Regions from separate parts of the Homo sapiens genome. Here all the other regions are linked to region 5. The links are contacts of gene promoters, found by promoter capture Hi-C in blood cells and fetal thymus (Javierre and others, 2016). All regions are on one chromosome and are shown on one strand. Each heading gives the region's core, a stretch centred on a gene start or on the middle of the fragment in contact. The rest is flanking DNA. Distances are from core to core; before and after follow the strand shown.

Region 1 (4,197 bases), core at 1,190-3,689, 1.9 Mb before region 5:
AGTGAGGGGAGAATGGCAGAGTAATTTCTAGAGTAGGCTTAGATGTTGTTACTGTTTATTATACCTTAGAAGTTTATCTAAAGAATTTTTTTCATGTTCTAAATTAGCTTTTGAGTATATTGTTACTCATCAAAGGCAAGCAGTTTATCTTCTGTTATCTTTTGAAGAAGTCTTTTCAAGTATATGTAATTTTGGTTCCTCTTTTCCCTCTACTGTGAAATTATATAGGAGACAAAGCATTATCTAACTGTGAACCTTACCACTCTTCGAGTATGGTGTTATGCTTGCAGCAAAGAAGTATTTTTGGATAGGAAATTAGGAACTCAGCCTTCATTGCCTCATGTAAGACAACCTCACCAAATACAAGAAAACAGTGTCCAGGTAATAATCTAGATCCACTTAGTTAAGCTGTAAAACATTCCGGTAATAATTTCAGAATTTGTCATGTAGCTGAAATTTTCAAAAGGAATACTGCCTAACCTGTACTTTGAAAATTTCTGTAATGTGCCTTTTTTCTCTCAAATAAAGCACTCAGACTCCCCTTTCTTGTGTTGCTTAGAGTGCTAGATTAGGGTGAGATTGAAGCCCACCTGTTTGAAGATGGAAAAGGCCCTAATGAATTTTTGAAGTTTTTTTTTTTAAATGACTCAAGTAGTCTTTATCTTTTTCTGGTAAGTCTGATTTCAAGAAAGGTGGTGGGCCTTCTTTGATAGCATATGGCAGTTACTAATTCAGCTCTCTTCCCCGTTCTCTCCTCCCCTCCATCCCCTTTGTATTACTGTGAACATTTTACTTATTATTGACAACAAAGTAGAATATAATAAAGCTTAGCATCAGTCTTTGGGTTAAAGATTTTTCTCCCTTTGGGCTGGGTGCGGTGGCTCACGCCTGTAATCCCAGTGCTTTGGGAGGCCAAGGCGGCTGGATCACGAGGTCAGGAGATCGAGACCATCCTGGCTAACATGGTGACACCCCGTCTCTACTAAAAATACAAAACATTAGCCGGGTGTGGTGGCGGGCACCTGTATTCCCAGCTACTTTGGAGGCTGAGGCAGGAGAATGGCGTGAACCTGGGAGGCAGAGCTGGCAGTGAGCCGAGACCTTGCCACTGCACTCCAGCCTAGGTGACAGAGTGAGACTCCATCTAAAAAAAAAAAAGAAAAAAAGATTTTTCTCCTTTTGGATCAAGAGACTTAGAAAACACATGGGTTTGCTTGCAGAATTTATCACTTAATTTTCAGAATTCTTAAAGTCATAGAAAAATAGGAAAAAGGAAATTAACTTAGAATAGTTGGCTTCTTAATCAGATCATCAGTTGATCAGAATTTGATCAGATTTGATTAACAGCAAGTTTTTTTCCTCATGTGTGTTATAGAAATCACATATTTCTGTACTTGTTCATTGATACCAACTGTCAGGTTTTTCTGTTGTATGTTTGTATCACATTCTTATGGTAGATATTTGTGATAATAAATTTGCTTGCCTTACACATGAAAGATGGCTAGATTTTAGTCAAAGAATAATTTCTTGCATTTTCAGTTTCTCAGTTGAATGGCTCTAGTTAATTATAACCATTACTGTTTCTCCCACTTATACCTATTTATCATTCACAAACATGTTTAGTCTTTTTCAAAAGTCCAGATAGTATGAAAATGGCCGTTTCGTTGAATCCTCTTACATTATTAACAAAAGTTTGTCCCACTGAAGATAGCTGAATGGTAATAAGTAGAAAAAGTTTTAAAAAAGAAAAAAGTGTAATGTTATGACTAAAGTTTAATCACACAAGGAACTAATAATATATAAAGGCAAAACTATCAGCATCACTTACTAGAGAAGTAAGTTAAATAAGCTATCTGTTGCCATTTCTGCCAGAAAAGATCAAGATTACAAACTTTAATAAATGTTGAATCTGATAGAATAAGTATACTGATACTTTCCTGATGGCTTGTTAATAATTTTCTGATGACTTGTAAATATGTTAACACATAAAAGGCATAAACTTAATTTCATTCAACTTCCTTATGATCCCATTGTTGAAGAAATTATTCAGAAGAAAACAGTGGTTCAGATAGATTTCTTTAGTGGTCCAAAACTTATATGCTGTTGAAATCCAGTTTACCACAGGATATTTGCAAAATAGTAAAATATTGGAGGCCATGCAAATATTAATAAGATTTTTCAAATAGACATTTTTTCTAGATAGTAAAATTTCAGGTGATTTAAGCCTCTGTACTTCTGTGTATTTAGATATTTTGTAGTGAGCATGTATCTTTTTAAAAGCAATTACTTTATGAAAACAAAATGAAAGTATGAAGTCCACTCAAATGTCCAGTCTCTACAGATGTCAGGAAAGTAAAATCGTTGGGAATTAGTGCATATGCCTGCATTTTAGAGGTAAAGTAAGGCTATAATAACTTGGAGAACCAGAGTACATGCTAAATTCTTTCTGCTATTCAGTTTCCTTCTCTGTTTGGGTGTTGCTGAATGTTGGTTCATTGTAGTTCAATCTTCTGATATTACAAGAGAACTTTCAAATTTTGATTTTTATTTGTCGTCTCCGAATTTTTTAAACTTTAGCTCAAAGTTTTTTTCGTTTTTTTTTTTAAAGTGTTTACTAGCATTTGGCTAACAGGTTATCAGTTGCAACCTCTGAGTCAAGCCAATTGTTGGAAATTAATATTAGAATATTATTATTTAAAGTAAGTGCTTGAACTATTTAATATACGTAAAAGTGTGCAGGCCGGGTGTGGTGTCTCACACCTGTAATCCCAGCATTTTGGGAGGCCGAGGTGGGCGGATCATGAGGTCAAGAGATCAAGACCATTCAGGCCAACATGGTGAAACCCCTTCTCTACTAAAAATACAAAAATTAGCTGGGCGTTGTGGCATGCACCTATAGTCCCAGCTGCTTGGGAGTCTGAGGCAGGAGAAGCGTTTGAACCCAGGAGGTGGAGGTTGCAGTGAGCTGAGATCGTGCCACTGCACTCCAGCCTGGCAACAGAGTGAGACTCTGTTTCGGAAAAAAAAAAGTGTGCAAAGTAAATACAGTAATAAGTATCAGGAGAGATTGTAGAAGTCTATAGATAATGTGTTATGATGAAAAACTTTTGCCTTTTTCCCTGTTGAAAATGAGATCTGAGAAGACAGTGTAGGATAGTATCCTTCGGAGATCTTTTTAGCTATGGTTTACTGTCACATAATTGCAGTTATTGTGGAGTTTTAATTCAGAAAATTCGGTTGTAAAAAGTGCCTTTTTAACTCAAATATATATGTTAATAAAGCGGGACTGACATGCTATTACCCTAGGGTTTTATTTCCTTCAAAATATAAATGTAAGTTTAATTGCTAATACCACAAATTCTTATGGTTCCACTATTAAAATAACATCTCAATAATTTTTATGGTATAGATGTTATATAAGTTACAATTAAAACTTTTTTTAAATTTAAGGATTTGTTCAAGTGTGCTATCTTTTTTTGTTATCAAGGATTTTAAAATACCCAGTAATACAACATTAAAAACTCCTCTGGTTGCCGTATTTGATGATCTGGATATAGAAGCGGATGAAGAAGATGAACTTAGGGCCAGAGGTAAATTAATCCTGTGTAACGCTTCTTTGTATGGCACTGCCCATTTCTTTAGAAAACCATATAATGTAAAAGTTTCAAAATGTGGAGGTAAAATGGGCTTGATAATTAAAACAAAAGGACTCTGAAATTTGGCCTAGTAAAATTTTATTTGCAAAACAAACTTTTGGTTTCTCTGGTGTCAGTTTACCAAAGGTAGGATCCTACTTACTCTTTTGCAGTTGAGCCTTATGATCTTTTTGTTTAACTTGCCTTTTGAGGTCTGTTTGAACAGTGTTTCTCATTTTTCTATTGTCAGTGATGGGGAGGTATTAGGTATAAAGGTATTCCCTTAGCAGAAGTTCCGGGGAAAACATTTGGAAAAAGAATCAGGTGATACACTTCTCCCTTCTTCCCCTAAATTGAGAACCGGTCTATTTGGATTTTTCATATTCTTTTAGGCCCACTGTTCTTAGTATAAGCTTAAAATTTTCTGTTTTATAATTGATACTAGTGGTACATTGAATGTATATTTAGATAATTATCTGGAAATTAACACTTTGGTTTAAGCTTAACATGACTAGAGATAAGTTATAAATATTTTATGTATTTCCCAGTTTTAACCCATTAA
Region 2 (3,797 bases), core at 910-3,409, 1.8 Mb before region 5:
GAGCTCAAGGGATCCTCCTGTCTTGGCCTCCCAAAGTGCTGAGATTACAGGCATGAGCCACCATGCCTTGCTAGGTTATCTGTATTTTCCACGTAGATTTGTACTCTTTTTACTGTGTAATGGAGTGGTACAGCATGATGAAACATTTTGGAATGCCATTCATACGCTGCTTTCTTTGATATGTATGAATGAACATTCTTTTGTAGCTCCTTTTTTTCACTGATAAACTGGTTAAAATGACTTAAAATTCTGTACGGTGCTTTTGGTCATCAATGTAAGTGTGTAGATCTATTTCTCCAACTTGTAACCGTCAACCAAGTCTGTTTTTAAGAAGCTTACCTTTAAGGAATGTTTGTATACCTACATGTCAGTTTATTTTAAATAACATTTATTTTCTGTTTACTTCCAAAATTACTTAAGAAAGATATCAGATGTTTAAAGTGACATTTAAAGGACCGTCATTATCTTTTTTTTACTTCATTTTTAATTATAGATTTATTCCCTAAAATATAAAACACACAAAAAAGTACTTTTTCTATTAATGGAGAGTAATTGTAGACTTAAGGAAAATGACATATGTCTATATTGGTGGTAAGAAAAGGAACCTGAGGAGCTCTTCAATTTGTAAGGGTTTAAGTATGGAATTAAATTTAGAATGTTTGTATGTGGGTACTCCCTGAGAAGAACTTGGAAGTGTTAGCCAATCATCTTAGTTTGTTGAAGACACATATTTCACAGCTAAATGTAAGGAATTACTTGTGAAGTTTAGTAGAAAATGAAGTGTGCTATATAAGTGTTTGGAAATATTACCAATTTTATTCACAAATTTGTAAACGGTAACACATCTATAGTGACTATATTATGGTTTCTCTTCACAGATATCAAGTTATTCTAGTACAACCATATAAATAAATAATACCTGAAGTCTCAGTGTAACATGGACAATTAACAGTGATGACAGATAAATACAGACGCATGGGGATCAAATACTAGGCAAAACGCTTTTTAAAAGGTAAGAAATAATGTAATCTTAATTAAGGCCATGTGGGGTTTAGTTAGAAGTAATTGATTGAAGTTTCTTTTTCAGTGTATCAGGCTTTTAAGAAACACTGCAGGATCCTGTCTATCTTAATGCTGATAGAGCTCAGCTGTAAGTATCAGTTCTGTGAAAATAACAGTTGCAGATGTTCTTGCCTGCTAAATATCGTAGTGGATAATCTTCCTATAGTGAACTCTATTCAAATAGAGTAGTTATGTGGTTGATTAGAACTTGATAGAGTGCTACTAGGGCACATTCCAGTATGCTCAGAGATATACTTTAAGTTGTAGATGTTCTTTGCTTTTGATGATTGCTACTACCATCACACACTGTAAAACGTAATGTTTTGCCATGTTTGTGAAAGGCTTCAGTGTTTGGTACAAAGGAGTTGTCACTTGGAGTCTGTTATAAGAAGAGTGGGTTTTCAAGTCAAGGGTTACTTTATGTAGGATCATGTTTTCGCTGAGCTTCTCCCCATGTTAACTTAGAACATTTCTTAATGTACTGTAGTATTAAATGGTTATTAGACAATTTTCCTACCTTGTGCTTTTTAAAGCATTTCCAGGGCATGTTTGGGAGAGGTGGCATCTATAGATATTAGATATTACTATCCCTATTCTCTTTCTAGCTGACTAGAGCAGTAACCTATTTTTATTATGCAGTAAGTCTGCCTAGTAATTACAAGATTTTGTAATTATATCAGTCTTTAAGTTGTAATGCTTTCCCCAAAATGTATCACTATTATAATATCTAGTTTTATGCTTATAATAAAGCGACAGTTTCTGTCATAAACATCTGCTGGTCGTTTTCTTAGTCCTCTTCCTTGTTTTCAGATGGGCACTCATAGTAACCCATTTAGCAGATTGTACATTCTCTCTTTTTTTTTTTTTTTTTGAGACTGAGTTTTGCTCTTGTTGCCCAGGCTGGAGTGCAATGGGGTGATCTTGGCTCACTGCAACCTCTGCCTCCCAGGTTCAAGCGATTCTCCTGCCTCAGCCTCCTGAGTAGCTAGGATTACAGGCGCACACCACCATGCCCAGCTAATTTTTTGTATTTTTAGTAGAGATGGGGTTTCACCATGTTGGCCAGGCTGGTCTCGAACTCCTGACCTTGTGATCCACCTGTCTTGGCCTCCCAAAGTGCTGGGATTACAGGTGCGAGCCACTGCACCTGGCCTGTACATTCTTTGAAAAGGATATCATAATAAATTATTATATAGTAAAAATTAACCAGACTGTTCTAAGAAATGGAATGTAATTAGATTAATTAAATTGTCTGGCTAATTGGGTACTAAAACCGGAAAATCCTTGTTGTTCTTGTTCTTGTTAAAAATACATATGCCAAAAATAATAGAAATGTCCTTTTGTAATTGAATTTTGTAGCACTTGAATAAGCATCAAGGTTTTCCTATAGGTATAGAAGATTTGGTTGATTATTTGTGTGATTCTTTTATGCATAACCTAAATGGTTATGTATACTTGATGTCGAGAATTTGGGAAGTCCTCTAGGACAAGAGTACGAGATGATATTATAAATTCTGTTATGAGAAATGCTATCAAGGGCAACCTTTATCACCGCAAAAAAAAAAAAAAATACTCCCTTAGAGCAATGTCTAGAAAAGAGCAAGTCACATTTTGACTCAGTTCAAACTAATATTGAGTTGTAAGGATTTGGTATATTTTAGTATCTTTTTGGTTTGCTTTTGTTGATTTCTAAAAATCCTATTTCAGTTTCTTAGTATTCTTGAGGCTACAGAGTTACCGAGAAGCATGAAAGATGTCACTATGAACAGTTTCTGTACCTGTATTTCTTCTTATTATAGAAGGAGTAAATCTATTAGCATAAGTTCATCATCTTCTTTAATCCTTTTTTTTCATTATTTTATTTTAAAGAAAAATTTAGGAGGTTCTAGTATTCTTCATGGCTGAAGCTGAGAGAGTCTGAAACCCTGATGCTTAAGCTCCATTCTAGATCATAGCTCCAACTCCTTCAGGATATAAGGAAAAGAGATTATATTTCCACAATGATAGATCTTTGGTTGTACAGGTAAGTTATTTAGTTTTGCAGTAGTGAAGACAGCTATAGTTTGACTTCTTCTTCTTTTTTTTTTTTGAGATGGGGAGACTTGTTATTTTTCCATACATCCTCTGGGTGGCAACTTGTAGTTTGGCTGGCTGTTTATAGGAGTATGGAGCTGCAGGGAATGGGTTAGGAATGAAATATTTCCCTCCCTTTTTTTTTCAATGGGGTATAAATGAAGTGACTGATTATGTTGGAATTTTTTACTCAGGAGGCATTGTGAAATTCCTTGACTTCCTTTTCCTGATCGTCTTTTAAAGTGTGTGTTCATTTACTTTTGTCTATCTGTCTGTCTGTCTGTCTGACTGTCCGCTTATCTGCCTGCCTACCTACCTACCTACCTACCTACCGACCATCTGTCATATATCAGTTTCTCTTAATGGGAAAGAAATAAGAAGTCTCTTTATGTAAAACAATGCATAATAGAGTTCCCAGACTTCAAAGAGGTGACTATTTAAGAACCTTAAGTTGAATTGCATGGGTGGGTTACCAGCCAGGTTTTACTCTTCTACTTTTAACATTATAGATATGGTGGTAATTGCACTGCTGAGGTATTGTCTTAAAATAATTATATGACAAACATGGCCTCAACGTTATTAAATAGTTTATGTTTAGACAACTAGAAAAAGAATCATATTGGTTACACTTTCCAGTTGCATTTGCTCTTTTTTCCTTTTAC
Region 3 (3,874 bases), core at 4-2,503, 1.9 Mb before region 5:
GACCTCCTAGGCTCCAGTGGTCCTCTCACTTCAGCCTGCCTAGTAGCTGGGATCACAGGCGTGCATCACCATGTCTGGCTAATTTTGGGGTGTTTTTTGTAGAGATGGGGTTTTGCCATGTTGCCTGGGCTGATCTTGAACTCCTGGGCTGATCTTGAACTCCTGGGCTCAAGCCATGTGGCTGCTTTGGCCTCCCAAAGTCCAAAGTATTGGGATTACAGGCATGCATCACTGGGCCTGGCCTTAACATCGTAAACTTTAAAATTTTAAGATGGAGTCTCGCTCTGTCGCCCAGTCGGGAGTGCAGTGGTGCAATCTCAGCTCACTGCAACCTCTGCCTCCCAGTTTCAAGCGATTTTGTGCCTCACCCTCCCAAGTACCTGGGATTACAGGCACACATCACCATGCCTGGCTAATGTTTATATTTTTAATAGAGACGGGGTTTCACCACATTGGCCAGGTTGGTCTCGCAACTCCTGACCTTTATTTTAAAACATTTTCCACCACAGTTTTCCTACTAATTATGTTTTCTTTAATTAAATATTAAAAATAATTCATACATTGAATGCTTCTTACTTGAGAGGCCAGGGGAGGCCTTCATCTGATGAAAACTTGACTATGACTGTGATGTGTAACTAAGATTTATATGTTGTATGATACTTTTTGAAACCACTTCTTTTAGTTTGTTGTTGGCTCTAACATTTTGGAGCAGAAATAAGGGAAAGTTGAAATATAGATAAAGCAGGTTAAGCAATAAACTGATAAAGTCACTGACCTTAATAAACATAATAACAAGTCCTTATATGATTTTTGATTTTTATATTACTTTGAGAATTTTATTAAGAGGATTTATTTTTACTGGGTATTTGGCCACTGACTTAAATGTTAGAAACAAACTTCCTAGAACATTAATTCTTAAATTTTTCATGCTTTAGGTATGGTGGAGGACCAGCTGTCAACCATCTGTACATTTGTCATACTTGCCAAATTGAGGCGGAGAAAATTGAAAAAAGAAGAAAAACTGAATTGGAAATTTTTATTCGGGTAAAAAAGTGATGCTTTTCAAATTGATCTAGGATAAAGATGAAGACCTGACAATTATCAGAGTTATATGATATTAATAAAATGATTAGATGAAAGAGTTGTAATAGATTTCAAGTGTTCTAGGTGCATAATGGTGAATGACCTCAGGCAGTTCACTACAGTTCTGTTGAGTTATGTTCTCCCTTTGTGTGTGTGTGTGTGTGTGTGTGTGTGTGTGTATGAGACAAAATCTTGCTCTGTCGCCCAGGCTGGAGTGCAGTGGTGCAATCTCGGCTCACAGCAACCTCTGCCTCCTAGGTTCAAGCAATTCTCCTGCCTCAGCTTCCCAAGTAGCTGGAACTACAGGCATGCCCCACCACGCTAGGCTAATTTTTGTATTTTTAGTAGAGACAGGGTTTTGCCATGTTGGCCATGCTGGTCTCGAACTCCTGACCTCATGTGATTTGCTGTCTTGGCCCCACAAAGTACTGGGATTATAGGCATGAGCCACTGCTCCTGGCCCCTTTGTGGGTTTTTGCTTTTATGGATTGACAATACTTTTTTTTTTTTTAATGTATTGGCACTGGCAGAAATCTTATTGAAATGGAAAATTACAGGTTTCCTTAAGTTAGTGTTGTCTGTAGTCTATCCAGACTGCATGTACTACTTTGATTCTTTTGTGAGATATAATATTCTTTTGTTTTTTTGAGGGACTCCTGGGCTTATAAATATACTCACTTTTCACAAACTGAGCATATTATGAGGTGTCCCTTAATTGTAAGCAACAGAAAGTGTGGTCATAAAATCAAAAGCATGAACAACCAGGTTTTATGGGCAAGGACTAGTACCCTTCCAATTATTGACGTAGCAAGAAGTCTCTGCAGTACTGTTGTCAGTAACATAACTCCAACTATTTAAGACAATTGAAAATTTGGATCACTTGAGAGACACGTTTATTCATAAATCTACTGAGACACTATTATGGGGAGGAGTAATACTGCAAGAAAAAAATTGGGATTCTTTTAGTAAAAGCAGTGGAGAAGATATTGAGCAGATCAAAATAAGATGTCCAGTATGTTTTGTATTATTCATTTCCTGCACATGTGTAGACACACACACACACCTGCTTTTCCTCATTGATTCAGGGCTTTTTTTGTGCCCTTGCCTAAAGTAAAGTAAATTTTACATAAAAAAGATGCAGGTATAGATTTATTTATTTTACATGGGCTTCATTTGCTTCTTGAATCTAAGGAAGCAAACTTTAGTTGAATATTAAAAATAGTTTTTTCCATCAATGCTTAAATAATGGCTAATGACTGTGTCTGTCAGGATTTGATTAATAGTAGCTATTCTAAGTATTTTGAATAGAATCAGAATGTAGGGAATGAGAGATGTACATTACTATTGAAAGGACTGGGCAGTGAAGGTCAAGAAGACCACTGCTGACTTTCAGGAAATCTAAAAGTGGAATAGGGTACCACATTGTGGGTGGGAGAGAAGCAGTGGCCAAGAATGGTGTTTATAACCACAGAGGGTAAAGAGAATTTCTGTATAGTGAGTGGCATGAGCCCAGTCAAGGGTGTTAGAGCCCAGGCAGGATAAGAAGGGATGCCCATGTTGGCCTGACATTGGTGGCTACAAGGGTACAGCATAGTGGTGGTAGTGGCAGTGAGCGATTGGTTCCATATGGGAAAATGATCAAGACATACGTGTAATGAGTACCAAGTTTCTCATTGTCAGATGAGGAAGTTTCAAATATGGAAAAGGAGAAAACTAAACTGTACCTTGTGTTGTTATTGGATTGGAGTTATGGGTATCTTTGTGAACTCATGATAATAGCTGAGTAAATATGGACGTGTGTGTGTGTGTGTGTGTGTGTGTGTGTATGTGTATGCATGTATAGAAACTTGATATTTCTTAACTCTCACTGAAAGTGCCTTGGATCAATGATTACTCCAGTAGGATTGATCATACCTAGCTCTCAGATATATATATGTCTATATGTTTATATAGATATCTATATCTATATATAGATTGATTACTCCAATCTATTGATTACTCCAGTAGGATTGATCATACCTAGCTGTCAGAGACATATATATATATAGATCTATCTAGATAGATCTATATGTAGCTTTATATAGAGAGAGAATATGTTCTATATTTACAGAATGTTAAAATTAAACATGTATATAAAATATAGATATATAGATATGTATCTATATATATCTATATATTTCTAAATTTTATTTTAAAAGACAGGGTCTCATTCTGTCACCAGGCTGGAATGCAGTGGCTGGTCATAGTTCACTGTAACCTTGAACTCCTAGGCTAAAGGGATCCTCCTGCCTCAGCATCCCGAGTAGCTAGGACTACAGATGCACACCACCATGTGTAGCTAATTTAAAAAATAAATTTTTTTGTAGAGACAGTGTCTTGCTGTCTTGCTCAGGCTGGTCTCTAATTCCTGGCCTCAAGTGATTTTCCTGCCTCTGCCTCCCAAAGCTCTGGGATTACAAGCATAAACTACTGTGCCTAGCCTCAAAATAAATTACAGTAACATATAACCTCATTAAATAAAATAGGAGATACTGCATCCATATTGGTATAAATAAATAAATGAATAAATGGAAAGGATGAGGATTGGAATGCTTATATCATTTCTACTTAACTCCCTCATTAAACACTTATTAATTACAAACGGAAAAGACTAACTTTCAGCAGAGAATCCTGACACCATCTCGATGAAGATAAAATGAGCATCATTAGAAATGAAACAAATCAATTAGTTGGGTGTGCTGGTGTGTAAGTTCCAGATATTCAGGAGGCGGAGGCAAGAGGATCACTTGAG
Region 4 (3,850 bases), core at 1,106-3,605, 1.8 Mb before region 5:
TACTTAACATACTTCCTTATTTGCTTTCTGTGGTGCTAGTTTACTTTGCCAATGAATTCTTATACTGTAGCTGGAGTAAATGTCTTAGAATAAAATCGACTCTTTAAAATGAATCATTGCATGATTTTTAAACATGTCTTTTACTGTCTGCCTCTCACTGTACATTCTATTCCAATTGAATCTTGATTTCCTTAGTTCCTTAATTATGTTCTCTCATTCTAGGCCCTCCTCATATGCCTAACTGCCTGCTCTACCTTTTCCCTGTTTTCTTGATTATTGTGCTACTTCTACAAAGCCTTTCTGAATTTAGACATCATATTCTCTGAGAAATCTTATCTTTAGGCCTGATTATTAGTTGCTCCTTGTGTGCTGTGTTGTAGTTATAATTGCCTGTAAATGTGTACAAGAGACCATAAGCTCTTTGAGAGAATCATGTCTGTCTGGTTGGTTGATGTATCGGTGGTGAAATTTCAAGCATTATACTGCTTTGAAAATGTCAGAGAAAAATTTAGCATGCTTTTCATAGTAGAAAAATTTAAATACCATTATTTGACTTTCAAGATTCTGAATTTTATATAGTGTTAGTGATTTTTTAACATTTAAATTTTCGAAAGAAAAATATGCGATATCATCATTCATATGGTTAATTTAACTCAGCTATGTGGAGACATATAAGAGGAGTCTCATGTTTACAGATGAGTTGTCCGAGTTTGTTACCTAGTGGTAAAATCATGTTTTTACATGGTCATATAAGAAATGTAAGTTCAGTTTTTAATAATACCAGACTCCCAAAGAGAAGTCATTGTGTTATAAAATAAATTTAGGTTTGGTATTATCAGAATGTTTTATATGATTGTAAATACAATTTTACAATCTAGAGTTTTGCCAGTAGGCATTAGAAGCCTACAGAGTGGTTAAGAATTTGATTGTGGTTGTCTTTACTGAATTGAAGGACTTGAAAGAAAATGTGTGTCCTTGCCTTTTTATGTGTGTCTGTTCTATTAAAGATTTTCAGTAGAGGATAGTACTCAACTTTCTTGGTTAAAAACTCATAATTTTGAGTAGATGCTACAATTAATTTAAAATGACATGTGCTGTGTCTTTGCAGTTACTATGAAATGATAGCCTACATATAGTTTAACATACATGTAGTTTGGGCTATATTTGAGGTATGTTGTTTGTTACAGTATTAGTTTTTAACTAGAAGTTACTAACTTGCCTCTGTTATATGAAACTTTTATGTATTTGTAATACTAGAATAAGAGGTAAACATTTTAGATTTTACAGTGGATTGTTTCATAGAATAGGTAATCTAAAATTCTGGAGTAGGGAAATATCAAGGGAATCTTGATCTGACTGGTTGTCAGGGGTTTTTTTCTAGATGATTGTGAAATTTTTATTCTGTTAGCTATAATATAGTTGCATTTAGCTTTCTATTTTAAGAGAGAAAACTCAAGAATTCTGTGGCATATATTTAGAAAAGCAGAACCTAGGGATAAATTGAAAAGGTCATCTTTTAAGGTCTGTTCCCATAAGAATCTTTGAGTCTTCAGGGGAAAAAGACCATTTTTTGAAGGTTATAATAATGTGATTAAAAAACACTGACAGATTGTTTTAAAATTTCCTATACAAGTTACTTAAATTCAGTGACTAGTAAATAACTTCTTTAAGCTATTTAAAACTAACAAGGACAATAAAGTTAAGGTAATCAGAACTTGTTTGCAGCTTGTTGCAGGAATCAGAAATTCACTCAGAGTATCTCAAACAACAAAGGGGTTTATTTTAAATAAATGATAGCAAACAATCTTGCGAATACTCATGATCAGAAAACAAATTCGAGGCAGACCTCATGAAATTATAACCTGTCAGTATTCAAGATTATATATACTCTCTCACCACTGCTTGTCTTTGTACAGTACAGGCTAGTTTTTCTTATTTTATTAATGTTTTTTGCACACTTTCTTCCTTTCCCCTGAAATTTCATTTTGCAGATGGCATTGGCTTCCTACTGTGCTTGTCATGATCCCAACTTTATATGACATTTTATTCCCAGAGCCTCGTCACAGTCTCTAAAGAGAACCTGGTTCTTGACTATCCAATAGATTGGCTTCCTTGGTCAGTCCATCCCTGGCCGAATTATCAATTGTCAGGGGTGGGATTATTGGACAAAAAAAAAAAAAAAAAAAAAAAAAAAAGGCTGCATTGGTCTACTCTTCTAGAGCAAGGGTATATCTTCCAGCAAAAAGGTATGTGGGCAGGTTGGTAGGCTGCCAAAACATGCCCATTATAGACCATTTAGCTTTTTGGGTAAAATTGTACTCTTGGTCAATTGTTTATAAAATAAGATATGGAAACACTAATACATTGCTGGTTGCAGGGTAAAATGGTGCACCCACTGTGGATAACAGTTTGGTGGTTCCTCAATAAGTTAAACATAGAATTACCATATGATTCAGCAATTCCACATTTATTTATTTATTTTTTGAGATGGAGTTTTGCTCTGTCACCTAGGCTGGAGTGCAGTGGTGCAATCTTGTTTCACTGCAACCTCCGCCTTCTGGGTTCAAGTGATTCTCTTGCCTCAGCCTCCCAAGTAGCTGAGACTACAGGTGCTTGTCACCACGCCTGGCTAATTTTTTTTTTTTTTTTTTTCAGTAGAGGCAGGGTTTCACGTGTTGGCTTGGCTGGTCTCCAATGCCTGACCTCAAATGATTCACCCACCTGGGCCTCCCAAAGTGCTGGGATTACAGGCATGAGCCACCACGTCTGGCTCAGCAATTCCACTTTTAGATGTATACTCCAAATAATGAAAGATAGGTGTTTAAACATGAACTTGTACACAGATGTTCACAGCAGCACAATTCACAATAGCCAAAAGGTAGAAACAGTTCAAGTGTCCATCAGCTGATGAATGGATACACAAAACAAGGTATATCAATACAATGGAATTGTATTCAACTGTAAAAAGGAATGAAGCTGCAATATGAATGAATCTTGAAACCATTGTACCAATGAAAGAAACCAGACACAATAGGTCATATATGTTTCTATTTATATGAAATAATCCAGAAGAGGCAAATTTATAGAGACTGAAAGCAGATGAATGGTTACCCAGGGGGTCGGGGAAGGGTAGAATGAGGACTGACTGCATAATGTGTATAGGATTTCCTTTTGGGGTGATGAAAATGTTTTGGAACTGGATAATGGTGATGGTTGCACAACATTGTGAATGTACTAAGTGCCACTGGATTATATACTTTAAAATGGTTAAAAAGGTAAATTTTATGTGATTTTTACCACAGACAGATGAAACTAAAGCGTGGGGGGATTAGTGCATACCAGGGTATGCACAAGATCATCCACTGGGAGATAGAAGAAAATACTACTTAGAGGTTTTTTGCTCATTTTAAGAATGTCTGGGTTTTTTGAAATACATTATAACATATATTTGTAATGCATTTAAGTATAGTAGAACATATAGTTTATAAGTAAGTGTACATATATTGGGAACATGCCTGACAATTTTTATTTTTATTTTTATTTTATTTATTTATTTATTTTAGAGACGAAGTCTCACTCTGTTTCCCAGGCTGGAGTGCAGTGGCGCGATCTTGGCTCACTGCAACCTCCGCCTCCTGGGTTCCAGCGATTCTCCTGCTTCAGTCTCCCTCCTGGGCTGGGACTACAGGTGGGTGCCACCACCCCCGGCTAATTTTTGTATTTGTTTTAGTAGAGATGGGGTTTCACCATATTGGCCAGACTGGTCTTGAACTCCTGACCTCGTGATCCACCCACCTCGACCTCCCAAAGTACTGGGATTACAGGCGTGAGCCTCCGCGCCCGGCTGACA
Region 5 (3,965 bases), core at 1,269-3,768:
TCTACTGAACCTTAAGTTCATTGAGAGCACAGATTATTATCCCCAGCTGCTAACATAATTTGAACCTTTGTTCGCCTATTTGGGCCTTGGTTCTATCTGTAAAACAGGAACAAAAAAAAAATCTACTCTGCAAAATTATTGTGAGGATCAAAGATACCGTCTGCCTAGTAAGAAGCCAGAACAAAGTAGGTGCATATAAATTAGTGAATGTTATCATTACTGATAAATAAGTGGGTGACCAAGCATCTGATGAAGAGAGGGATTAGACTGACAATGTGAACATTCATGTTGCTTTAAAGGAATTGCAAGTAGCTCAGTTTTGTTAGAAAGCAGGGTAAATATTAAATGATGAGGGATAAATCTGTAAAGATTAGAAACCGATCCCAATTGCTTTGGCTATCCTTCTAGAGAGTTTGATCTTTTACCTGCAGATACAGGTCTACTGATTTAAGTGGCAAGGGACATGATAAGATCATTTTCCACATAACTCTGGTGGTACAGTAAGTAAGCTACAAGGATGGAAGAACACTTAAGAGTTTGAGGGCTAGGTGCAGTGGCTCACACCTGTAATCCCAGCATTTTGGGAGGCTGAGGTAGGAGGATCGCTTGAGCCTAGAAGTTCGAGACCAGGCTGGGCAACGTAGGAAAACACTGTCTCTACAAAAAAATTTTTTAAATTAGCCATCTGTAGGGGCACATGCCTTGGTCCCAGCTACTCGGGAGGCTGAGGTGGGAGGATCGCTTGAGCCCAGGAATTTGAGGCTGCAGTGAGTCATGACCATGCCACTGCACTCCAGCCTGGGCAACAGAGCAAGACTCTGTCTCAAAAAAAAAAAAAAAGTGCAGAGAGGAATTTAATTAATCATATAGTCAGCCTGAGGTATCCATTAGTCCATCAATAAAAACTTCAGAAGACAGTCTGAAGTAAGTCTGGAGTGTAGATGAGATCTGAGCTGTGGAGATAGTCACATCTAGGTAGAAGTGGCCTAGGAAAAAAAGCTTTAATGACATGCCCATAATTTGGGAACAAAGGTGGGCACAGCAATTCTCTGGGAGGTAGCAGAAAAACAGGGGCAAGTGGAATCAAGGAAGCCAAATTAAAAGAGTTTAAGAGAAGACCAGTCAAGAACATTAAACATAGGCCAGGCAGCAGTGGCTCATGCCTGTAATCCCAATGCTTGGGCAGACCGAGGCAGGAGCACTTGAGACCAGGAGTTTGAGACCAGCATGGGCAGCATAGCGAGACTCTGTTTCTAAAAATAAAGAAATTAAGAACATTAAATACAGCAGAAAGGTCACATGAGATGAACTGAAAAATGACCATTGGATTTGGTATTTGTTACTTTACCATTGTGTTGCAATCGTGTGTGAAAAATGGTGATGCTTTGTCATGAATAGAGACTAACAAAATAATAAATGATTTGAAGGACATGCATCTTTTTTGTTTGTTTGTTTTGAGTCAGGGTCTCACTGTGTCACCCAGGCTGAAATGCAGTGGCGCAATCTCAGCTCACGGCAGCCTCGACCTCCCGGACTCGCCATCCTCCCACCTCAACCTCCTGAGTAGCTGGGACCACAGTCACGTGCCACCACACCCAGATAATTTTTGTACTTTTAGTAGAGATAGGGGATGGGGGTGGGAGGTTCACCATGTTGGCCAGGCTGGTGTGGAACTCCCGGCCTCAAGTGATCCGCCCACCCTGGTTTCCCAAAGTGCTGGGATTACAGGCGTCAGCCACCGCCCAGCCCACTCTTTTAATACTAAACATATTATTTTCCCTGAATTAGATGAAATGTTCAATTTAATCTATTTTATCCCACCTTAGCAGGATTTGGAGAATTAAATTCAGCAGCCAAAGATCAGCTCACAACTTCTATCAGCAAACTCACGCACAAACTGTCATTTGTCAGACACTGTGAGGGACGTTATATGGGATACTTCAGCCTTTCTCAGAACTGAGCCATCCACAGTCAAGGTCTTGCAATAGAACCAATTTGAAAAGTCAAGGCTTCTAATCACCCAGACTCACCAAATTCCCAGGGCACTCAGATCTCACGCCCCAACCAAATCACAACTTCACTGTGGTAACCACCACCCACGTGCCCCCGAGCCTCCATGAACTGCCGGCCTCTAGCCTCAAGGAGACTCCTCCACCCAATCACTCCTTGCCTTGAGCTGGCCGGGAGTTTGGCGCGGGGCAGGGAAGGCTGCTGCTGCTGCTGCTCCGGTCGCCCGCAGCTCCTGACGTGCCAGGACAGGTGGATGCAGAGACCACCTGGACCGAAGGGCGGCTCTGTGGAGTCTCCTGGAGTCCGAAATTGTAGCGGGGACCCTGAGGTGAGCGGGTTTCTCCCGACGACGGGGAAACCGCCGGGGCAGAAGGCGAGGTTGATGAGATCTCAGGCCTCAGCATCCTCCCAAACCTTCCCTGACCCGAGAAGTATGAGGTTTCTGAGCGACCCCTCCAGTAGCCCAACTACAGAAGCTGCGCCGCTGAAACGGGCGGGAGAACTGCGCGCCGACGCACTAAGCTGCACTGCGCAGGCGCAGGCAGGCTCAGCTTTCCACATGGATTCACGTACTTCAGGTCTATGACCCTGCTTCCAGCCATTCCCAAACCCATCACTTTCCACATGAACCTCACTGGAACATCCTCAGCCTGCAGGTATCAGACTGACCAGAACTCTGCAAGGCCCATCAATGACCACCCGATTTGTTAGCCCCATTATTCTCACAGCACCCAATCTCCCTTATTGCAAATGTTACATGCATTTCCCACACGTCCAAGCACACTAGCTTATCTTTAAATGTAGAAACCACCCAACACAGTACACCCAGTGCCTTTGACACAATGAGAACGTGTAATGCTCACACAGCATAACCCACCTAAGGTTGATCTTGTGACCAAATATAGGAAAGATAGTTATATTATCAAAAGATAGTATGCACATGGCTGTGTGCATAGTAGAGTAGGAAACAGGGAAAGACTGACTGGGTAAGATCTCTCAGTTAACAATTCCCCATCTACCAATTTCTAGTACTGTGGTTTCTAACATATAAATCAGTTAATGGCACACTAGAAGTTCAAACTCCAGCTTTGCAGTGGTGACCTTTAGAAAATTCCTTAAATAAGGCCAATAGTACCAACTTACCAGAGATCCATGGATTAAACATGACGAAATTATCTGGATACTGCCATACAGAAGCTATTAGAAGACATTAATTTACACCACTACTGAAATCCTGCCACTGTTGAGTATCTCAATAAACCAGTTATGCACAGCGGTTTACCCACATGCAGTGACAACAGTCCTTAAGAACATCTCTGTTCTTGGAATGATTATTGCACAGGGCATTCCAAACATACTTGAGAAAAATCTCAATTTCCATCAAAAAACCTTATTTTCAGATCGGGCACGATGGCTCCTCCCTGTAATCCCAGTACTTTGGGAGACTGAGGCCAGAGGATTACTTCACCTCCGGAGACCAGCCTGGGGAAGACAGTGCCTGTCCCCAAAATTAAGAAATCAGCTGGGCATAGTGGGCATGGTGGCAGGTACCTGTAGACCCTGGTACTCAGGAGGCTGAGGTGGAAGGACTGCTTGAGCCCAGGAGTTTAAGGTTACAGTGAGCTGTGATTGCACTACTATGCCCCAGCCTGGGGAAGAAAGGAAGACCCTGTCTCTAAAAAATAAAATTTAAAAATAGAGAATACCTCACTTTCACCAAAACTGTAAACCCCTAGAGTGATTGTACTCATTTTAGGCCAGGCGTGGTGGCTCACGCCTGTAATCCCAGCACTTTGGGAGGCCGAGGTGGGTGGATCACAAGGTCAGGCTGGTCTCCAGCTCCTCAGCATGGTGAAACCCTGTCTGTACTAAAGTAACATAAAAATTAGCCGGGCATGGTGGTGTGCGGCTGTAGTCCCAGCTACTCGAGAGGCTGCGGCTGAATTGCTTAAACC
Region 6 (3,876 bases), core at 299-2,798, 1.9 Mb before region 5:
ACCTCGGCCTCCCGAAGTGCTGGGATTACAGGCGTGAGCCACCGCGCCCAGCCAGGATAATTTTTTTAAAGGCATATTTTATAAACCCAGCTTGCCTGGATTCTAAAAAATTAGTGTTATGATAGACAGAAAAAGGCTAGATGAAGATTAAGAGAACATGACTACTAAATGCAATGTGTGATCCTAGGTTGGGCCCTGGATTGGAAAAGATAATATCTAAGGAACAATATTGGAACAGTTTAGGAAATTTGAATATAGAATATGTATTAGATATTAGGTAATATATCAATGTTAAGTTTCTTGAGTATGATAACCAGTAACATAGGAGAACAACCTTGTTAGGAAATTTACGCAGAAATGCTGGTTTTTAGGGTTGAAGTCATGCTAATTTGAAACACACACATACACACACACACACATACACACACACACAGACTATAAGAGTTTCCTACCTAGGATATGCTGTTTACCTCTTCCAAGCCCACAGAATTGCTTTCAGCCTAGACTGAGAGATGTTGTAATAAGGAGTCCTATAAAATTAACTGTTGGATTTACTAGAAAGATGCTGTTAAGGATACTCTTCACATGATGTTGTCGTTGTGAGAAACTGAGAGAAATTCATCTTTAGTCTTAGTCCTGGAGTAGTAATGCCTCCTGTGGGCAAAATATTTGTTACCCTAGGCATACTGAACCTGTTATAACTGATTTTGTTTTTCCTTGTTACAACATCTGCTACAAAGCTTAAAGCAAGTGTTCAGGACCTTAGAGCATGGTTTTTGTTTTTGTTTTTTTAAATTATTTATTTTGAGACAGTTGTGCAGTGTTGCCTAGGCTGGAGTGCAGTGGCATGGTCATGGCTCACTGCAGCCTCAACCTCCCATGCTCAAGCAATCCTTCCACCTCAGGCTCAGCTGGGACCACAGGCATGCACCACCACACCTGGCTAATTTATTTTTATTTTTTGTAGAGATGGGGTCTCACTATGTTGCCCAGGTTGACCTTGAACTCCTGTGCTCAAGCAATCCTTCTAGCTTGTCCTCCCAAAGTGCTGGGACTACAGAGGTGTGAGCCAGTGCATCCAACCAAGCATGTATTTTTGTGCATCATTTTTGTTTCTATTTTCTTTTTGCCCTAAATTTCCCATTTTAATTATTTTGAATTGTATTTTACCTATTATACTGATTTTTTTGGGTAAGCTACATGTCTTTTTAGAAAGAAGCAAGGTATAGTTATTAAAAATATGGCCTTTTTGGTGATGTACAGCAATGTCTTCCCCACCAGACAGTAGGCACCAAAAGGTTTTGTCTTGTTCACCCCCTTGTGTTTAACATAATGTATGAGACAAAATAGGTTCCTGGTAAATTTGTCTAATAAGTTCACATTTAGGACTCCATTTTCAAATTTCTTCCTCACTGGTTTTTGGTTACCACTGTTCAGTTTTCCTTTACAGTTCTGGTCCCTCATTTCTCCTTTGTAGTTTTTACTTTCTTCCTTGACCTCAACAATGTCAGTGCTTCTCAGGGTTTTGTTCTTGATTTTGTTTTTCTCACTCTGCTCTCCCTGGGTAACCAAATCTAAACCTCAGGTTCCAGTTAACTATTTCTAAGCTAAAGACTCACAAACCTGTACTTCCAGCTCAGACCTGAAGCCAGCATCCTCGACATGTATCTAACTGACTCTTGGGTTCTTCATTTAGATGTACTGGGGTTGCCTGAAACTCAGTATACTCTAATGAAACACATCATTACCCCATCTAAACTTGCTCCTACTTTAGTATTTTCTGTGGTCATCAATAACACCTCCATCTCCGTGGTCACCCAAGCCTAGACTCTCCTTTCACTTCCCACTAATTCAACCACCCAAATCTTAAGAGATTCAGCCCCCAAAAGATCTGGACATATACTGCGTTTGGACATGAGGGCACTTATTAAACCAATCATAATGCCATGATAGTGCCCCCAAACAGAAAAGTGGTTAAATAAATTATGCAATCATTTATCAGGGTTTATTTTTATTTTTTAGAGATGGGGTCCCACTGTGTTGGCTCAGGCTGGGCTGCAGTGGCATGATCATAGCTCACTGCAGCCTCAAACTCCTTGGCTCAGGTAATCCTTCTGCCTTAGCCTCCAGAGTAGCTGGGAGTACAGGTGTGTACCACCAAGCCTGGCTAATTTTAAAATATTTTTTATAGAGATGGGATGTTGCTATGTTGCCCAAGCTAGGCCTGAACTCCTGACTTCAAGTGATTCTCCCACATTGGCCTCCCAAAGTGCTGGGATTACAGGTGTAAGCCACCATGCTTGGCCCAGTTCTTGGGGTTTTTGAAGAATATTTAATGACATAGAAAAAAGCTTATGATCCAATGAAAGAAATTAGGATATATGACTTCATCTTAGATTTTATATACGTGGGAAAAAAAACAGTGGTTTCTTTCAGGCAATAGTAAGTAGTAGTAGTAAATAAATAATAACTTCCATCCCATGTAGGGGGCTTTGCATCAACTGTTCTCTTTCTCTGGAGTGTTTTTCCCACCTTTGCCCAACTCCTAAATGCATTCACACTTTAGAAGTGGTGAATGCATACTTCATCTCAGATTGGATGTTGCTTCCTCAGAAGTACTTTAGAACATGTATGTACTTTTGGGTATATGGACATATTCTCATAGTGACCTGCGCTTTTTTTTTGTATATTCTCCAATTTAAAACTTTTAATTAAAAAGTAAACTTTAAGGCCGGGCGCGGTGGCTCACGCCTGTAATCTCAGCACTTTGGGAGGCCGAGGTGGGCGGATCACAAGGTCAGGAGATCGAGACCATCCTGACTAACACGGCGAAACCCCGCCTCTGCTAAAAATACAAAAAATTAGCCGGGCGTAGTGGCGGGTGGCTGTAGTCCCAGCTACTCGGGAGGCTGAGGCAGGAGAATGGCGTGAACCTGGGGGGCGGAGCTTGCAGTGACCCGAGATCGCGCCACTGCATTCCAGCCTGGGCGACAGAGCGATCCGTCTCAAAAAAAAAAGTAAACTTTAATGTCGAAAATGCAAACTTGGGGAGGGCAGAAAGAGCACGCACAAGGCTGTCACTTCACACTTGGAGGGTTGCACAGCGGCCAGCAGAGGCGCTCCTCACTTCCCAGATGGAAGGAGGGGTGGGGGGCGGGGCGGCCGGGCAGAGGCCCTCCTCACTTCCCCGACTTGCTCCTCACATTCCAGACGGTGTGGTGGCCGGGCAGAGGCCCTCCTCACTTCGCAGACGGGGTGGGGGCCGGGCAGATGTGCTCCTCACTTCCTAGACGGGGTGGGGGCCGGTCAGAGGCGCTCCTCACTTCCCAGATGGGGTGGGGGCCGAGCAGAGGCGCTCCTCACTTCCTAGACGGGGTGGGGGCCAGGCAGAAGCGCTCCTCACTTCCCAGACAATGGGGGGACTGGGCAGAGGCGCTCCTCACTTCCTAGAGGGGGTGGGGGCCAGGCAGAAGCGCTCCTCACTTCCCAGACGGTGCAGGCCGGGCAGATGGGCTCCTGACATCCCAGATGTCAGTGGCCGGGCAGTGGCGCTCCGAACTTCCCAGACAGTTGGGTGGCCAGGCAGAGGCGCTCCTCACTTTCCAGACGGGGCGGGAGCTGGGCAGAGGCGCTCCTCACTTGCCAGACAGTGGAGCAGCCAGGCAGAGGTGCTTCTCACTTCCCAGACGGTGGGGTGGCGGGGGGCGTGGGGGGGGGGTGGAGGGGGGAGGGCAGGGCAGAGGCGCTCCTCACTTCCCAGACGGTGGAGCAGCGGGGCAGAGGTGCTCTCACTTCCCAGATGGTGGAGCAGCGGGGCAGAGGTGCTCCTCACTTCCCAGACGGGATGGGGGCGGGGCAGAAGTGCTCCTCACTTCC
Region 7 (3,695 bases), core at 22-2,521, 1.9 Mb before region 5:
GGTTCAAGCGATTCTCCTGCCTCAGCCTCTTGAGTAGCGGAGATTACAGGCGTGTGCCACCACGCCTGGCTGATTTTTTTATCTTAGTGGAGACTGGGTTTTGCCATGTTGGCCAGGCTGGTCTTGAACTCTGACGTCAGGTGATCCGCCCGCCTCGGCCTCCCAAAGTGCTGGGATTACAGGTATGAGCCACCACACCTGGCTTCCCAAATACTTTAAAACTTTAAAATTTTATATTTTCTCTAGCTTTATTGAGTTATAATTGGTAAATATAAAAATTTTAAATTTAATGAATGAGACAGTGAATCACAAATTTTCTTAAACATTCCAGTATTCTTATTAACCAAGCTAAATATTCATACACTTTTAAACTTAAAATCATAAGCGTGAAGTCAGTTACTATTTTAAATTTAGAAACTATCATTGTCTATAGGAACTTAAAAATATTTAGGATAGTTTTAAACCACACAGTATTAGTATCATGAGTTTGATATACGTAATTTCAATATTCTAATTAATCATGGACGTTGGGCAGTCACTTACCTTCGGGAACAGTTTTGCTGTCTTCAGCAAGTTGAGATTCCTGTGACATACTTTATGTCCACAGTTCAGTTACCATCTCTTGACAGGCTGTTTATCAGCTTGACATTGGCCTTGGAAGCTGTCTTTGTCTAGGTGGTTTTTCTCATGTCACAGATGGACATAATGAACTGTCAGTAAAAATTGTCTGTATGGTAACAGTGGAACTCTAAGTTGATGTTGGTTTCTTCTGAATTGAAGTTTAAGACCTTTTGTAATTGTTTTGTAATTGCTTTTTAACTCTATTGCCAGATCAAGTTTTGTAAACCTCACCCAGATTATTTCACCACTTGATTGGATTCCAGGAATCCATTTTCTGTCTGGCTGATAGCACAGGTTTTAGATCATTTAAAGACATTAAGGAACTGAGAGGTATTGATAGCTTTTGTTAATTTGTTGTAACAAAAAGTATGCCAGAAGACTAGAAACAGCATAAGGTCTTATTTTTAAAAAGGAAACCAGTAGTTTTGGAGATTGTTTTCCTAGGTATGCCTTGGAGAAGAGGCAGAGAAGTACAGGCTTAGCTCATCAGCATTAAGAACATTTCATTAATAGTGTAAAATAAACTTTCTTAAATACTGTTAGAAGGAATTAATGTCAGACTTTGAGAGAAGTATCTAAAAAGGTACTTTTTGTTGTCCATTTTTAATATTTTCATTAATGTTTTGAATAAATGTACAGTTGTGCTTATAAAATGTCAGAACAATTTAGCTGGCAAGGATAACTAAAACAACTTGTAAGTTCTGTCTGAAACTACAGGCAGAAACCTATAGTGTGAGCTGCTTAAAAGTGTGGAATTAAAAAAATATGGAATTCAGATAGAAAAAATTACATGAGTAAAATTTTGTTCAATTAATGTTAAGGCACTGTATGTACTAAGAGAATAAAAAATGTATTGCTCTATTCCTTCGAGGAGCCTATAATTGAATGGGGAATATAGATATATCAAACTATACATTGTAATTTTATGATAGGATTATTAAGCATTATGGGAGCAAAGGAGAGAGTAGTTAATTCTGATGGATCATTGAATTGGCCTTTGAGGAATAAGAGTTTTCTAGGAATTGAAGAGGGGAGAAAGTCATCTCCTTTCTTTCCCTCCCCATTCTTCTTTAAGGTACTGAAAAATCAGATTCAGGACAGTGTTTATTAAGACAGATATATTTGTGGGCAAATAAAGAGTAAATTGGAATGAGAGATTAATTAGGCTACTACAGTTGTTTAAATAGAATGATGATGGCCTGAGCTGGAGCAATAACAATAGAACAGAAAGAGTAGATAGTTTGTTTTTTTTTTTTTCCAAGACATTTTGGTGATAGAATAAGTAGGGTTTATTAGCCGGGTGCCATGGCTCACACCTGTAATCCCAACATTTTGGGAGGCTGAGGCGGGCGGATCACCTGAGGTCAGGAATTCGAGACCAGCCTGACCAATATGATGAAACCCCGTCTCTACTAAAAATGCAAAAATTAGCCAGGCGTGGTGGCACGCACCTGTAATCCCAGCTACTCAGGAGGCTAAGGCAGGAGAATCGCTTGAACCCGGGAGGTGGAGGGTTGCGGTGAGCCAAGATCGCGCCATTGCACTCCAGCCTGGGCAACAAAAGCGAAACTCCGTCTCAAAAAAAAAAAAATAGGGTTTACTGATTGTATATTATTAGGAGTTTAGTTTTATATAGTCTCAGACATCCAACTGGTGAGTTGCTTAAAAAAGAAAAAACAAATGAAGTACCAGGCTGCAGTAATAGGATTTTGTCCATAATAAGGGATATGATATTCATTCCATGTTGGTTAGGACACATTTACAATGTTGGCCTTATTTCTGAAAGCTACACTTTAAGAAAAGTAAATGAAAAGATAGATATGTCAAGAGGAGGGTAACCCATGAGAACCTTTGAAGGAATTGAGAGTGCTTATTGTGGAGAAGGAAGACTTGACAGGAATGAGTGAAGGAGGGAAGGGGACAGTTGTTTTCAGGTAATGCAGGGCTGTAATGAGTTGTTCTACAGGGTAGAATTAGATCCAGGATACCACCAGACTTTTTTTTTCTGAGAACTAAGATATTCTCTTAACTGCAGTTACAGTGATCAAAATTAGGAAACTTAACATTAATACCATTATCTAATTTACAGTCCACAATCAAATTTTTTCAATTATCCTAATAATTATTTTTATAGCTTTTTAAAATCGAAGATCATACATTGCATTTGATTTCATGTCTCTCCAGTCTCCTTTAATCTGGAACAGTTAGTCAAATTTTTTTTTTTATTAATTTTTTTTTTGAGACCGGGTCTCACTGTGTTACCCAGCCTGGAGTGCAGTAGCGTGATCATGGTTCACTGCAACTTCCACCTGCCAGCCCCAGGCAATCTTTTCACGTCAGCCTCCCGAATAGGTGGGACTACAGGTGCGTGCTACCATGCCTGGCTAATGTTTTGTTTTTTTGTAGAGACGGAGCGTCACTATATTATCCAGGCTGGTCTCCAACTCCTGAGATCGAGGGATCCTCCTGCCTTGGCCTCCCAAAGTGTTGAGATTACAGGCGTGAGCCACAGCACCTGGCCTCACATTTCTTTATTTTATGTATTTGTTTTTTGAGACAGGGTCTCACTTTGTCATCCAGGCTGGAGTGTAGTGGCATGAATTCGGCTCACTGTAGCTTTGACCTCCTGGACTCAAGTGATCCTCCTGCTTTAGCCTCCCAAGTAGCTGGGATTACAGGCCTGAGCCACCATGTCCGGCCTGGCCTCAAATTTCTTGACATTTTTTAAGAGATTAGGCCAGGTATTTAGTGTCCCTCAGTTTGAATTTCTTGTGGTTAGATTCAGGGTGAGTACACTGATACTTCCAATTCTAGTCACTACAGGGTATGTTCAAATTTCCCACCCTTCCATATTTGTGATATCTTAAGTTTTTTTGCTTCATGTTTAAAAATACCTGTTGGGTGAGGTGCATTGGTTTATGCCTGTAATCCCAGCACTTTGGGAGGCCAGGGGAGGAGGATCCCTTGAGCCCAGGAGTTTGAGACCAGTCTGGGCAACATAGCGAGAACTTGTCTCTACAAAAAAAAAGCCAGGCTGGGTACGGTGGCTCATGCCTGTAGTCCCAGCACTTTGA

The links. The method cuts DNA at HindIII sites, captures the fragments that hold promoters and counts their contacts. A CHiCAGO score of 5 or more calls a contact.
Region 1: a fragment that was not itself captured here is called in contact with the fragment with the promoter of MSH4 in region 5 in 5 of 17 cell types (non-activated CD4 T cells, monocytes, naive CD8 T cells and 2 more); the score reaches 9.1 in non-activated CD4 T cells.
Region 2: a contact is called between a fragment that was not itself captured here and the fragment with the promoter of MSH4 in region 5, in 4 of 17 cell types (non-activated CD4 T cells, naive CD8 T cells, monocytes and 1 more). The highest score is 10.1, in non-activated CD4 T cells.
Region 3: a fragment that was not itself captured here is called in contact with the fragment with the promoter of MSH4 in region 5 in 3 of 17 cell types (naive CD4 T cells, non-activated CD4 T cells and total CD4 T cells); the score reaches 5.4 in naive CD4 T cells.
Region 4: a fragment that was not itself captured here is called in contact with the fragment with the promoter of MSH4 in region 5 in 3 of 17 cell types (non-activated CD4 T cells, naive CD8 T cells and naive CD4 T cells); the score reaches 8.0 in non-activated CD4 T cells.
Region 6: a contact is called between a fragment that was not itself captured here and the fragment with the promoter of MSH4 in region 5, in 4 of 17 cell types (non-activated CD4 T cells, naive CD8 T cells, monocytes and 1 more). The highest score is 8.2, in non-activated CD4 T cells.
Region 7: a contact is called between a fragment that was not itself captured here and the fragment with the promoter of MSH4 in region 5, in 5 of 17 cell types (non-activated CD4 T cells, naive CD8 T cells, activated CD4 T cells and 2 more). The highest score is 11.4, in non-activated CD4 T cells.

What each region holds. Positions count from the first base shown.
Region 1 is chr1:77,735,449-77,739,645 of GRCh38, reverse strand. It overlaps USP33 (ubiquitin specific peptidase 33), which reads left to right. Exons shown (of 24, transcript NM_201624.3): 5 at 229-381; 6 at 3,488-3,590. Among named protein-coding and RNA genes, the nearest start is that of USP33, 22 kb to the left of the region's middle. The HindIII fragment of the contact is 3,222 bases long and covers 829-4,050 here.
Region 2 is chr1:77,638,737-77,642,533 of GRCh38, reverse strand. ZZZ3 (zinc finger ZZ-type containing 3) reads left to right here. Exons shown (of 15, transcript NM_015534.6): 2 at 879-1,012; 3 at 1,088-1,150; 4 at 2,932-3,085. Among named protein-coding and RNA genes, the nearest start is that of ZZZ3, 42 kb to the left of the region's middle. The HindIII fragment of the contact is 3,645 bases long and covers 337-3,797 here.
Region 3 is chr1:77,708,917-77,712,790 of GRCh38, reverse strand. It overlaps USP33 (ubiquitin specific peptidase 33), which reads left to right. Exons shown (of 24, transcript NM_201624.3): 21 at 936-1,044. Among named protein-coding and RNA genes, the nearest start is that of ZZZ3, 28 kb to the right of the region's middle. The HindIII fragment of the contact is 8,441 bases long and covers 1-3,874 here.
Region 4 is chr1:77,616,579-77,620,428 of GRCh38, reverse strand. All of the region lies in intron 5 of ZZZ3 (zinc finger ZZ-type containing 3), which reads left to right. Among named protein-coding and RNA genes, the nearest start is that of ZZZ3, 64 kb to the left of the region's middle. The HindIII fragment of the contact is 5,876 bases long and covers 1-3,850 here.
Region 5 is chr1:75,795,435-75,799,399 of GRCh38, reverse strand. It overlaps MSH4 (mutS homolog 4), which reads right to left and starts at 2,518. Exons shown (of 20, transcript NM_002440.4): 1 at 2,171-2,518. The coding sequence starts at 2,414. The HindIII fragment of the contact is 6,934 bases long and covers 1,002-3,965 here.
Region 6 is chr1:77,687,007-77,690,882 of GRCh38, reverse strand. No RefSeq gene overlaps it. Among named protein-coding and RNA genes, the nearest start is that of ZZZ3, 6.3 kb to the right of the region's middle. The HindIII fragment of the contact is 1,611 bases long and covers 743-2,353 here.
Region 7 is chr1:77,662,270-77,665,964 of GRCh38, reverse strand. All of the region lies in intron 1 of ZZZ3 (zinc finger ZZ-type containing 3), which reads left to right. Among named protein-coding and RNA genes, the nearest start is that of ZZZ3, 19 kb to the left of the region's middle. RefSeq lists an enhancer at 3,362-3,695. The HindIII fragment of the contact is 7,724 bases long and covers 1-3,695 here.